2 separate regions of the Homo sapiens genome follow, and region 2 is linked to region 1. The links are contacts of gene promoters, found by promoter capture Hi-C in human tissues and cell types (Jung and others, 2019). All regions are on one chromosome and are shown on one strand. The core of a region is centred on a gene start or on the middle of the fragment in contact, and the rest is flanking DNA. Distances in the headings are between cores, read along the strand shown.

Region 1 (5,531 bases), core at 1,899-4,398:
GGAATTCAACAATTCTTTCTTTTTCTTTTCTTTTTTTTTTTTTTTTTGAGACAGAGTTTTGCTCCCATTGCTGCCCAGGCTGGAGTGCAATGGTGCCATCTCGGCTTACCGCAACCACCTCCGTCTCCCAGGTTCAAGAGATTCTCCTGCCTCAGCCTCCTGAGTAGCTAGGATTACAGGCATGGGCCAGCATGCCCAGCTAATTTTGTATTTTTAGTAGACACTGGGTTTCTTCATGTTGGTCAGGCTGGTCTCGAACTCCCAACCTCCGATGATCTGCCTGCCTCGGCCTCCCAAAGTGCTGGCATTACAAGGAGTTCAATACTTTCTAAGATCCTTCAAACTTTCATATTTTCAAAACCATATATTTGTCAGCAAATACATATTAGATGTCTGCAATATGCCAAGCATTATATACCCACCTATAATAGTTTACTGCCTTTGTTTTTGAAGGACCACATTTCTCTTTGGTTACTCAATTTCCTCATGGTGAAATGCGACTAATGATGACTCTCCTGCTTATTTTAGAACACAGAGGGAAATTGTATCTGAAAGTGATTTGGAAAATCTAAAATGTTCTGCAGCAGCAGATACCTTTGACATATTCATTTGTATTGTGGGAACATATGTACAGGTTTTTCTCTTTGAGATAATAAGCAATAACCTGAAAATGCTCTGTTTTACTTGAAAATGTGTGAGATGCCTGATCCAGAGAGAAATTATCTTAATACTGTTCCAGAGTTGTGTTTGCATGTACACACAAAGCTGCTAATTAGATCACAGTAAATGCACAAAGTAACATTGTCTGCTTGAAGAATAAAGAATGTGTTCCATGAGAGCTTGCCTATTTTATTCACCATCACATTTATAATAGTAATATTTGTTGAAGGAATGAATGAGTGAAGCAATGAAAGAACGCAGATAGCAGAGATGTCTTTAGTTTTCTTTTCATTACCAATTTCAATTCTTGTGTTGTCTTCAATATTTAGGTATTTTCTTTGATACTTTTTCTTCTCCTCTGATTACCTCTAGAGGAGAGTATGTTGAAGCTCATTTTGACTCAAAATAATTTATGCTTAGGAATCAAAAGATGTTCGTGTTGCAAACACACATTCCTTAGAAATATTACTATTGTAATTGCTTCCTGAGATCATCTTTAATGTGTCCAATACATTATTCTGCTTTAGTTCTGTAGCACCTAACACAGGGTATGGCATTGAAAAAGTACTCAGTAATTCATGAATGATTTGGCCAATCCAATGGAATAACTGGTGTGAGTACCTGGGACAGAGGTGCATGACTAATAGGAGTATTGTGTAAGAAATGACACAGGGGTTCTGAAATTTTGCCACGGCATATTTAGTCATTTCCATTCAGTGTTAAGATGGTTGTCACCACACAAATAATATCTATTTGTTCACTGTAAATTTTCTCCAGGGTCCCTTCCCACCTTCAAATGCATTATTTTATTTTATTTTATTATTTTATTTTATTTTATTTTATTTTATTTTATTTTATTTTATTTTATTTTATTTTATTTTATTTTATTTTTTGAGGCGGAGTCTCGCTCTGTCGCCCAGGCTGGAGTGCGGTGGCGCAATCTCCGCTCACTGCAAACTCCGCCTCCTGGGTTCACGCCATTCTCCTGCCTCAGCTTTCTGAGTAGCTGGGACTGCAGGCGCCCAACACCATGCCCGGCTAATTTTTTGTATTTTTTGTATTTTTTTTTTTTTTTTTTTTTTTGAGTAGAGACGAGGTTTCACCGTGTTAGCCAGGATGGTCTCGATCTCCTGACCTTGTGATCCGCCTGCCTCGCCTGCCAAAGTGCTGGGATTACAGGCATGAGCCACCTCGCCCGGCCCCCACCTTCAAATGCATTAATCGGATTCCTTCAGTATTATGAAGAAAACATTATGAAGAGCCTTACCTGATGATAGTAATAACAACCGTAACCACTAAGTAGAGTCTATATTTATTAATAGCAATGTCATCTTCTCTAACAGTTGTCCAGTGTCCCAAGCCTGTCATAAGCTCTTTGAAGCTCTGTGAGAATGAGAGTTGTGTCTTATGCTCAGCACTTAAGATGGCTACTTAATTCAGATAGAAGAAGAATGTGGCTATTTGCAGGCAGAAGGCAACTTGATTCCTCACATGGTACTATATACTAAGACACCCTACACTCCCAGTTTTACACGTGGTAGTTCTAGCACGTTCCTTCATTTAAGGAGTCTCTTGAATTCCAAAATTTCCAGATTCCACCTGAATAAATGGCAGAGATGGCAACTGGACACAAAGTTATTTTACCCTGTTCCCTTCACATAAAAGGCAGGCTTGGGATCACTTAGGTTTGGGGGCATAAACATCCTCTCAGTGTCTGAGTACTAAAGAAATGATAAACTACTATCAATAGAAAAGTAACAGATCACTTAATTATCAATCAGTCTAATGGTGATTATTTTAAGACTTTTGCCACAAACTGAACTGCCCCAAAGCAAATCTCTCATGCAGTTTGGCCTTAATTTCTTTTACCCTTTTTTTTTTTTTGAGAGGTTATTATGCAGTGCTTTCCCGTTTAAAACACTGTTTCTACCAGGGAATATTAGGGGGTCTTCTGCATTACAGACTAAGCAATTCCGTCTTTTCTCAAGAAAAACTGCCATGTTACATCTGGACAAAAATGGAAACTTTAAAAAAAAACCTCACATCGTTTTATTTTCCTTTCTGTGTGTGTATTTTTTCCCACATAAGTATCTTATTATTTCCTAATCGAAGCTCATTCTTCTCTATGAGGCGCTGGCTTGGTATTTTCGCCTGACAAATCTCCCGGAGCAGATGGTCCCTTCAGGGAAGCTTCAGGAAAGTGCTGGGTGTCTAGTTATGCCTGGACCCTCCCTCCCTCTTGGGGCCCCAAATGACAAGTCATCAAACCAGTTTCTCTCCAGCAAGGGTCCTTGATCCGGTAGCAGCAGGTTTGGGTTTCAGGCACTGCAGAGACCCTTTGCAGTTGGGTTTAGCAGCTACCCAAGTCTGCAGCCTGCGCTGGTCCTGGGGGTGAGAGTGATATCCCTGTTGTCCAATCAGAGAAGCGGGTTTCCCTGTGGTCCCCGCCCCACTTTCCCTGCTGCCCCAATAACCGCCCTAAAAGGCCGGGCTTCTGCTGTCAAGTAGCCAGGGTGGGCTCCGCCGAGGCGAGGAGGGGCGCCGGTGGGGAGATGCGCTCCCAGGTGTTTGCAGCGGAAGTGGGAAACCTGTAGGGTATGGTCCAGCTGTGCCGCACCGAGGCGAGCAGGAGCAGGGAACAGGTAGGAAGCTGGACTTTTCCTTCTTTGCAGATAAAATAAAGAATGCGCATTTCCATGCTGTTGCTTCCCTTCCCCCAGCCCCGCCCAGCCCTCGTCACCCCCAAATCTCCTGTGGTCCCTGCAGCTCTCGCCGTGCGGCGCGGGAAGGACTGGGGCGGAGGTGGCTGGGGTGCGGGGAAGCAGGGGTGCGGGATGCCGGAGCCCTGGGGTGCCGGGCAAGGCAGGACGGCAGTGCCCTAGAAGAGGGCTCCGAGCTCGGGGTCTGTGTCTCGTCAACTTTCCTTTCGGAGGCTGCCGCCGCCAGCGCCGGGAACTCGCCCCAGGGATGCCATATCGCCTCGGCAGGGGAGGGGTGGGGAAGCAGAGAGGTCGGCAGCCCGGGGCCTGCAGGTCTTTTTCTCCCGACGCCGGCCCGCACCTGCTCATCTTTCCCATCCCACCTGGGCGCCTGGCTAGCGCATCCCGGAAAACCTGGGAGCGGTTGCGGAGAGGGGAGGAAGCGACTTGTTTGTCCCCTGACCCCTCTGTTAAGATCTAGCTCCCTTCAGGAGATGGGGGTGGGGAAGAATCCCTGCAACTCGAAGGGCACGTTCCGATTAATTACGTCTCCGTTGAGAAGGCACCGGCCCTTCTCCACGATCTGCGGCAGGTGGGAGGGAGAGACCGCGGAGCCACGGCCCCTTCCCTCCTAGCCTGGCGCTGTCTACGGGAACCACCTTCACACCTAGTTTCTGAAAGGTGGATTTGGCTTCAGGGATTTCCAGGGAGTCAAGTGATTGTGCCCGGATGGGCTCCGAGCGGCTGCGAGGCTGCCTCCCTAGGTGACCGCATCTGGGTAGTAGGTGTTGGCCCAGTGCCGGTTCCTGCAGGAGTCAGATTGCTGGGAGCAGTAGGCAGAAGAATTGCAGAGAGATCCGACGCTGCATCACCCTCTGGGACTGATGACACCCTGCTTTGAAAATTCCTGAAAAATTGGGATGATGGGAAAGAGGGAAAGCGGATAGCTGCGACCTTTCCTTATTTATTTATTTATTTTCATGCCAAACCGGGCATGGGTATTCGTACGTGTGCTTGTGTGTGCACATCTCCAAGGTGGAGCTATATATAGCTCCTGCATACCCAGCCCGGCTTCCCTGCTGCTGAGCCGGCTGCCTTGGCCTTCTCAAGCAATCTGGAAGCACTGAGTGGGCGGGGCAAAAGGGAATCCAATTCTCCATTGGGGGAAAAGCCGGAGAAGAAGCATTCAGACTGCTGAAACCCTGCGTGAAATAATGTTTTTGTAACTCACGTAAAGATCAATATTTCATATTTCATGTTTTCAATATGTCATATTTCATGTTTTCAATATTTCAGTATTTTGCAAACATTCTTAGAGTGCCAATATAATCTTCATCCATTTCGCCGCATTTTTCGGTTTCTAAGTGTACATATGAACCTTACCAGCCCGAAGTGTAACGCAAATCAAATTAATACATGCCGTATCTGGGATATTTTATTAGACTCGGCATAATGGTTTGGTTATTTGGTAGTAAATTTATTTCAGTGGTAACTTATGGCTAACAGCATTTGGGGATCTGGGAATGGATCCACCCACTTTCCAGGACTAAGGAACTGCTAGAACCCTTGCGGGGGTAGATGTGAGGTATTTCTTTGTACAGATTTTACATGTGGACCTGATATTTAAATTTGTACTGCTTTTTCATATCACATCTATTTGTACTATGTGAACTTTCTTTTATAGATTGATGTATGTGCATTTATCTTTGCCATTCCCTGAAATTACTTATTCCTGATGACAACCTTTCCATTTTCACAGATGAAGAAACTAAGATTCAGAAGACACAAGTGATTGGTTGAAAGTCTTCTGAAAACTTTAATATTCCAACAACCTGCCGTGTAATTATACTGCATAGCAGTTTCCCCTCAAATAGAATACTTTTTAGCTTCCCAGGATTTTTGGTCCTGGCAACAAAATGTGGTTAATGTTGATACCAGGAACAATATAAACCAAGTTTATTCGGTTCTAGTCTGACATGTATCCCTACAAAATTTAATTCTGTGTTTTAAGAACAAAATTCTAACTTGCCAAGTCATTTTGAAGATAAATTATTTAATCTACCAAGTTACCATCATAGGCAGTGCGAGCTGGCTTTTAATTTTGCTCTGCAACTTCCTGATGATCTGATTTGGAGCAAGATAATTAAACTCTGAGAATCTGTTTTCTTGTCT
Region 2 (6,120 bases), core at 746-3,245, 41 kb before region 1:
TTACTTCACCCTCTCACTTTGAAACAACAATCACAAAAATTGGGTCAATGGAGAACTTTCTGGGAGGTCATACTAATTCACAGGGGCAGAGATAAAACAAAACAAATTTGATTAAGAAAAGTCAAATGCAAGTGGAAACAAAGCAATGGAATTGTGTGAAAAATAGTAGGCTCATGTTTCCTATCAGTATATGAATTTAGACATTTTTCACACTTTCTACTGAAAGGTCGGGGGAAAGGGAAAAATAATATAAATAAATCAGTGTTCCTGGATATACAACATATAGACATTTTGATCATGAGATCTAGTGTCTGAAAAAGGAAAGGAAGAAAAGGAGGTAAAGGGAAGGGATAGTTTGAGAACAAGGGAAGGAGGGAAGGAGTAAAAAGAAAAGGAAAGCAAAGAACACAAACCGTTTTCAGAGCACTCACTGAGCTCTGGGTACTGTGATAGGTGCTTTCATGTATGTCACAGGATCTAATTTTTAACATAACTTTATAGATAAAGATTATTACCCCATTTATGTAGAAGAGAAAGCTGAGATGCATAAAAATTAAATAAAGCAAACTGAAACCAGGATTAAAAATCATTTTGACTGTTACACTCATTCATTCTCCATTTTATCACTATCATTGGAAATCATAAATATTAATCTTCTCACATTTAAATGACTAATCTTTGCCCAGTGAAGTGGATTTAATTCCTAGAGGTGGTAATCTTTCTATCAAAATTTGAATCTCCAAAGAAACCTCAGTGTTTTTGGCCCCAGTCCATGTATAATGTGTTTTAACTATGGAATCTGCAACATGGACATCAGTGGAGACAATCCACAGCCTTCAAAGTCCATCAAACTATTAGAATGTACTGATTGGGAAATCATTCTGTGATGGCTGCTGTTTTCTTAGTCAGGGGTAGTGATCTTCCTTTTAGAAAAGAATAGTTTAGCTTCTGTAACCACTCAAGGGATTCTCCCTGCCTGCTGAATAAAGACAGGCATTGCAGTAAAGAAAGAGTTTAACAGACAAGAGGTCAGCCAAACCACATGGGAGATGGAATTAGTACTCAAATCATCACATCCAAAGCTCTAGGATTAGGGGTTTTTCAAAGGCAGTTTGGGGAAATTTATAGGGGTAGCCAGGTAACAGGTGCTTGATGCTGATTGGTTGGGGCAAAGATGAAATCACAGGGAGTCAAAGCTGTCCTCCTGTGGGCGGAATAGCTTCTGGGTGGGGCCACAGTAGTAGGGCTGGCAGGTTCAGGTAGAGCCATGAGTTTCAGACATGCAAAAATTCCTGAAAAGATATCTCAAAAGGCCCATCTTTGGTTCTATGATAGTGATGTTATTTGCAGGAGTAATTAGGGAAGTTGCATTATCTTATAACCTCCAGAATAAAGGCTGACAATCATTTATGTCTCTGCCTTAGCAAGACTCATGCTCCTCTCCTACCCCAGTCTGATGGCCTCCCATTAGCTTTACAAAAGTGGTTGAGTTTCAGGGCAAAGCCCATTATCATTTAAACTATAGCCTGAATGTCTTCCAAAGTTAGCTTTGCCCAATAGCCCAGGAATAATTAAAGGAAAGGCAAGATAGGGGTGGACTAGCTCAGATCTCTTTCAGTGTCATAATTTTCTCACTGATATACTTTTTTCAAAAGTGGTTTTACCTCAGAGAGGAAAGGATGTCATTGTTGAGAAATACTTTTTTTTTAATAGTTAACCACCAATTCCTGGACCAGATATAACTGACTTTGCACCCTAGGATTTTAACCATCTGCTATACTGCTTTCTCTGATTTTGTTTTCTTTGCCCAGTTGCAGCCCTTCAAAGCTCCACTCTTAGTTACCAAGCAGACTTTCTTCCTGCTGCTCCATCTCTTTTTATTGAGGTCACTTCAATCTCCTTCTGTCTCTTGTATCCTCCCGTTATTGGTTCCACCTTGGCAACTTATTTGGATCTGCCTCTTGCTAAACGTGTATGCTATGTCCTGCTGTGTTTTCTGGTTTGGGTCACACTGCCCTACAAGAAAACTTTGGAATCAATGTCCAGGATCTTAGGCGATTCCCTTCATTTGGGGTAAATCCCTGGGGGCTTCATGAAAGTTGAGATGCTGTGGGCAATATTGACACAGGAGTTTTCTTAGTTACTTTGTAAGCCAGGGACCTCCAGCCAGTGATGCCCCTGCCTGGGCCTCACTCGGCCATGCTCCCTGCCACTGGAGGCAGCTGCCCACTCAACCCACCCAGGCTGTGCCTGGCTTGTGCACCAGCTGAGCCTGCAGCTGGGCCAAGCATGCTCCAGTCCACCTGTGCTATAGCTCATACCCACGTTCAGCAGTTCCTGAGTTCTTGTCCCATGTCCAAGAATAATGAGGATATTCTGACAGTTGAAGGGTGAGGAGGGCAGAGAAGAATTTTGTTGAGGATGAAACAGCTTTTAGCCAAGAAGGGTCGTGAGGGTGGTCAGCCACCTGGAGTTGGGTGTTTCTCTCCCAGTGTGGCTGAGTCCAGAACTTTGATGGGCTCATAATAGGGGAGTGCATCCTGATTGGTTTGTGAGTATGCAAAAAAGGTTAAAAACAAAGGCAGCACTCAAAGGTGGGCATGGCAGTGTGAAAAAACAATTAGGGAAGGGTAGGTATATGTAAAATAGGTGAAGGCTGGGGATCAATCAGAGGAAAGCATGCCAAAAGGGAAGACAGGTTCTCAATCTTTTCCCTGGATTTGAATTATAGCTTGGCTTTCAGGCTTTAAACTGTCTTTGGTTTGGAGTTGGGGTTTCATAGGGGTCCCACTCCTATCTGCCTAGGCATTTGTCTGCTTCCTTCCACTATCAATATGAACCTAATGACAGTGCTGCAGTATATTGATTCAACCATTCTCTTGCAATTTCTTGTCCCCTTTACCTTCCAATATTGTGACTCTCATTCTCAAATGGGCCCTCAATGTTCCCCAGTAGATTCACCCACCATATTTTCCTAGTACATTCTCTCTTACACCTTCACAGATGGCCATCTTATGCCATCTCTCTCCTTCAACCACCAGTACCTCCTCCTCGCTTTCCAATCAGAATAGCTGGCCTTTCTTCCTCTATAGAAAATCAAAGAAACCAAAGGATACAATTCCATATGCTCCCAAAACCACTTCTACTGACTTATTAATATATTTGCCTTTCCCCCATCACCCGTAGATAGAATAACCACCAACTCATCTATGGTCAATCCCTTCATTTGGGCACTAGCTCCCAACCCTTCATGCCAATTCAAATACATTAGTTTAGCAACTGTCTATTCTCTGTGGCATCATCAATTTCCCCTCTTTACTATATCATTCTCAATATCATACCAATATGCTATAAAACCTCTTATCTACACCTTTCTTGTTGCTGCCCCATTTCCCAGTCCTCTGTTCCAGTAAATTTTTTGATAATGTTATCTATGTTTGCTATCTCTATTCCTCTCTTCTAATATTTTTCAGTACCCATGACAATCAGGCTTTTAATTCACTGAAACAGCTCTTGTCAAGGTCTCCAATGACCTGTAATTGCCAAGTGCAATGGTCAATTCTCTGTTCTCATCTAATATTTAATAGAGTGATCATTTCCTTATTTCCACTTTCTTCACTTGACTTCTGGCATATTTCTCTCTCTATCTCACTCTCCCTCTCTCAGTGCCCTTCTTCCTTAGCTATTTCTTCCTAATCTTCTTTGCTGGTTTCTATTCATCTCTCCTAACTCTAAATTGGAGGGCCCTATGACACAGTACTCAGATGTCTTCCTTCACTCCCTAGGTGAGCGCAACTAGTCTCATGGCTTTCAACATGCCCTCACTTCCAAACTTATACTTCTAGCCCAGGGGTCTCGGCTGAACTCCAGACTCATATACTCAACCGTATAGTTGACATTTCCACTTACAAGTATAATATGTAACTCAAGCTTACATGTCCAGACCAAATACTGATTTTCTACATTCCTGCCCCAACCTGCTTCTCCTATAGGCCACCCCATGTCAGTAAGTGGTAATTCCATTTTTTCATTGCTCTGGTTAAAACATTCCCTTTCCCTTTCTCTTCTACCATATTCAACCTATTACTAATCCTACTTGATCTATGTTCAAAATATATCTAAAATCTGACTATGTCTAGCTATCTCTACTACTATCACCACTGTCCAAGCCACTGTAATCTTGTTTGTGTATTATATCTACAAGCTGTTAACTGGTCCTTCTACTTCTACACTTGTTTCAATCTATTCAGTCTATTCACTATACAGTAGCTAGAATGCTCTTTTGAAAATGGAAGGTTGGGTGCTGTTACATTTCTAACCAATACTATCCAATGACTTCCTAGCTCATGCCAAGTAATAGACAAAAATCCTGTGTCTACAAAATGCTTTCCTCTCTTCCCAACCTTTTCAACTTTGTCTCCTACCAATTCCCCACTCATGGCTTATTCTGCTTCAACTACATCAGCCTTGCTGCTGGCTTCAGGGGTTTTGTATGCAGTTTCTTCTGCCTAAATGTTTACCCTGAGTTCTACGGCTCCCTTCCTCACTTCCTCCAGGTCATTGTCCATGTGTGCCTCCTCACTTCCTCCAGGTCATTGCCCATGTGTGCCTTCACTGGCAAAGCCTCCCTGACCTAGTATTAAGAAGCCTTAATACCTCATGACTGTCCCCAGCCCTCCCTACTCTATCATGTGCTTATTTCTTCATTTGTTTTGCTTATTATTTTTTATTGGCAATCTCCTTTCACTAGACTATAAACTCTATGAGGGCAGCAAGCTTTCCCTGTTCTTTGAAATGTCCCTCATGCCTACAGTAATATCTGTCTCAGAGTGAACTTCAATAAATATTGTTGAATAAATACATTGGGATAATAATAAGATTAACTAATCTGACTTGTTTGCTGAGGAGGTATTTTCTTAGAATGATCACCAAGCTACAAATATTAAAGGTCTTAGGCAAAAGAAAAAGAAAATGAAAGCAAGCTAAGGTTTCCTGGTAATTTGCTTGGTTTGTGAAGAAGTCAACCTTGATTTATATATTACCTGATGGTATGGATTTTTTTTTTTTTTTTGAGATGGAGTTTCACTCTTGTTGCCCAGGCTGGAGTGCAATGGCATGATCTTCGCTCACTGCAACCTCTGCCTCCTGAGTTCAAGCAATTCTCCTGCCTCAGCCTCCCTAGTAGCTGGGATTACAGGCGCCTGCCACCACGCCAAGCTAATTTTTTGTATTTTTAGTAGAGACAGGGTTTCACTATGTTGGCCAGGCTGGTCTCAAACTCCTGACCTCAGGCGATCCACCTGCCTCGGCCTCCCAAAGTGCTGGGATTACAGGCATGAGCCACTTCACCTAGACTGGATTTTGGCTTTCATCCTCAAAGTCTAACATTATAACTAGGCCTGTGCTCACAGTAAAGGAGCAGAAAATGCCATATGAAGCTTGCCTTTGAAGTGTCCTTACAAACGTTCTGACACAATCTTCTCCCATCACAGACAGACCAATGCTTGCTCAAGGGCACTCAGCAAATCAAGGGCAGAGCTTTTTATTTTTGAATCTATTTTAACATACTTGTATAACAGAGATGCTTCAATTTTCTTTCTTTTTTTTGGTAATAAAAACTATCCAAAATTTAACAACAAGAGAGTTCGGTGCTCTTTTAAAGTCATGTAAGAGCCCTGACTTACCAGCCTACCAGATCTGTCCAACAGAAATACAACGTGAACCTTATATGTAATCTGAATTTTCTAGTAGCCACAGTAAAACATTTTAAAAGAAATGGGTGAAATTAATTTGAATAATATATTTTATTTAACCCAATGTATGAAAAATATTATTTTGACCTGTAGTCAATATGGAAACTTATTAGTGGGGAAGTTTACATTCTTTTTTTTTTCATGCTGTTTTTGAAATTCAGTGTGTACTTTACACTTGTAGCAGGTCTCAATGTGGACTTGCCACACTTCAAGTGCTCTATAGCCACATGTGACTAGTGGCTTACATATTAACCAATACAGCTTTAGGGAAACCACATATTTGACATTTTTTTAAAAAAAATTTTAATTTTTAATGACATTTATTTATTTTAATTTTATTATTATTTTATTTTGAGATGGAGTCTCA

The links. Contacts are between HindIII fragments. The study calls those that stand out against the background at their distance.
Region 2: a contact is called between a fragment that was not itself captured here and the fragment with the promoter of CNTN1 in region 1, in 6 of the 25 tissues and cell types used here (H1 embryonic stem cells, aorta, bladder and 3 more).

What each region holds. Positions count from the first base shown.
Region 1 is chr12:40,689,291-40,694,821 of GRCh38, forward strand. CNTN1 (contactin 1) reads left to right here and starts at 3,149. Exons shown (of 24, transcript NM_001843.4): 1 at 3,149-3,302. The HindIII fragment of the contact is 18,580 bases long and covers 898-5,531 here.
Region 2 is chr12:40,649,044-40,655,163 of GRCh38, forward strand. No RefSeq gene overlaps it. Among named protein-coding and RNA genes, the nearest start is that of CNTN1, 40 kb to the right of the region's middle. The HindIII fragment of the contact is 4,716 bases long and covers 1-4,353 here.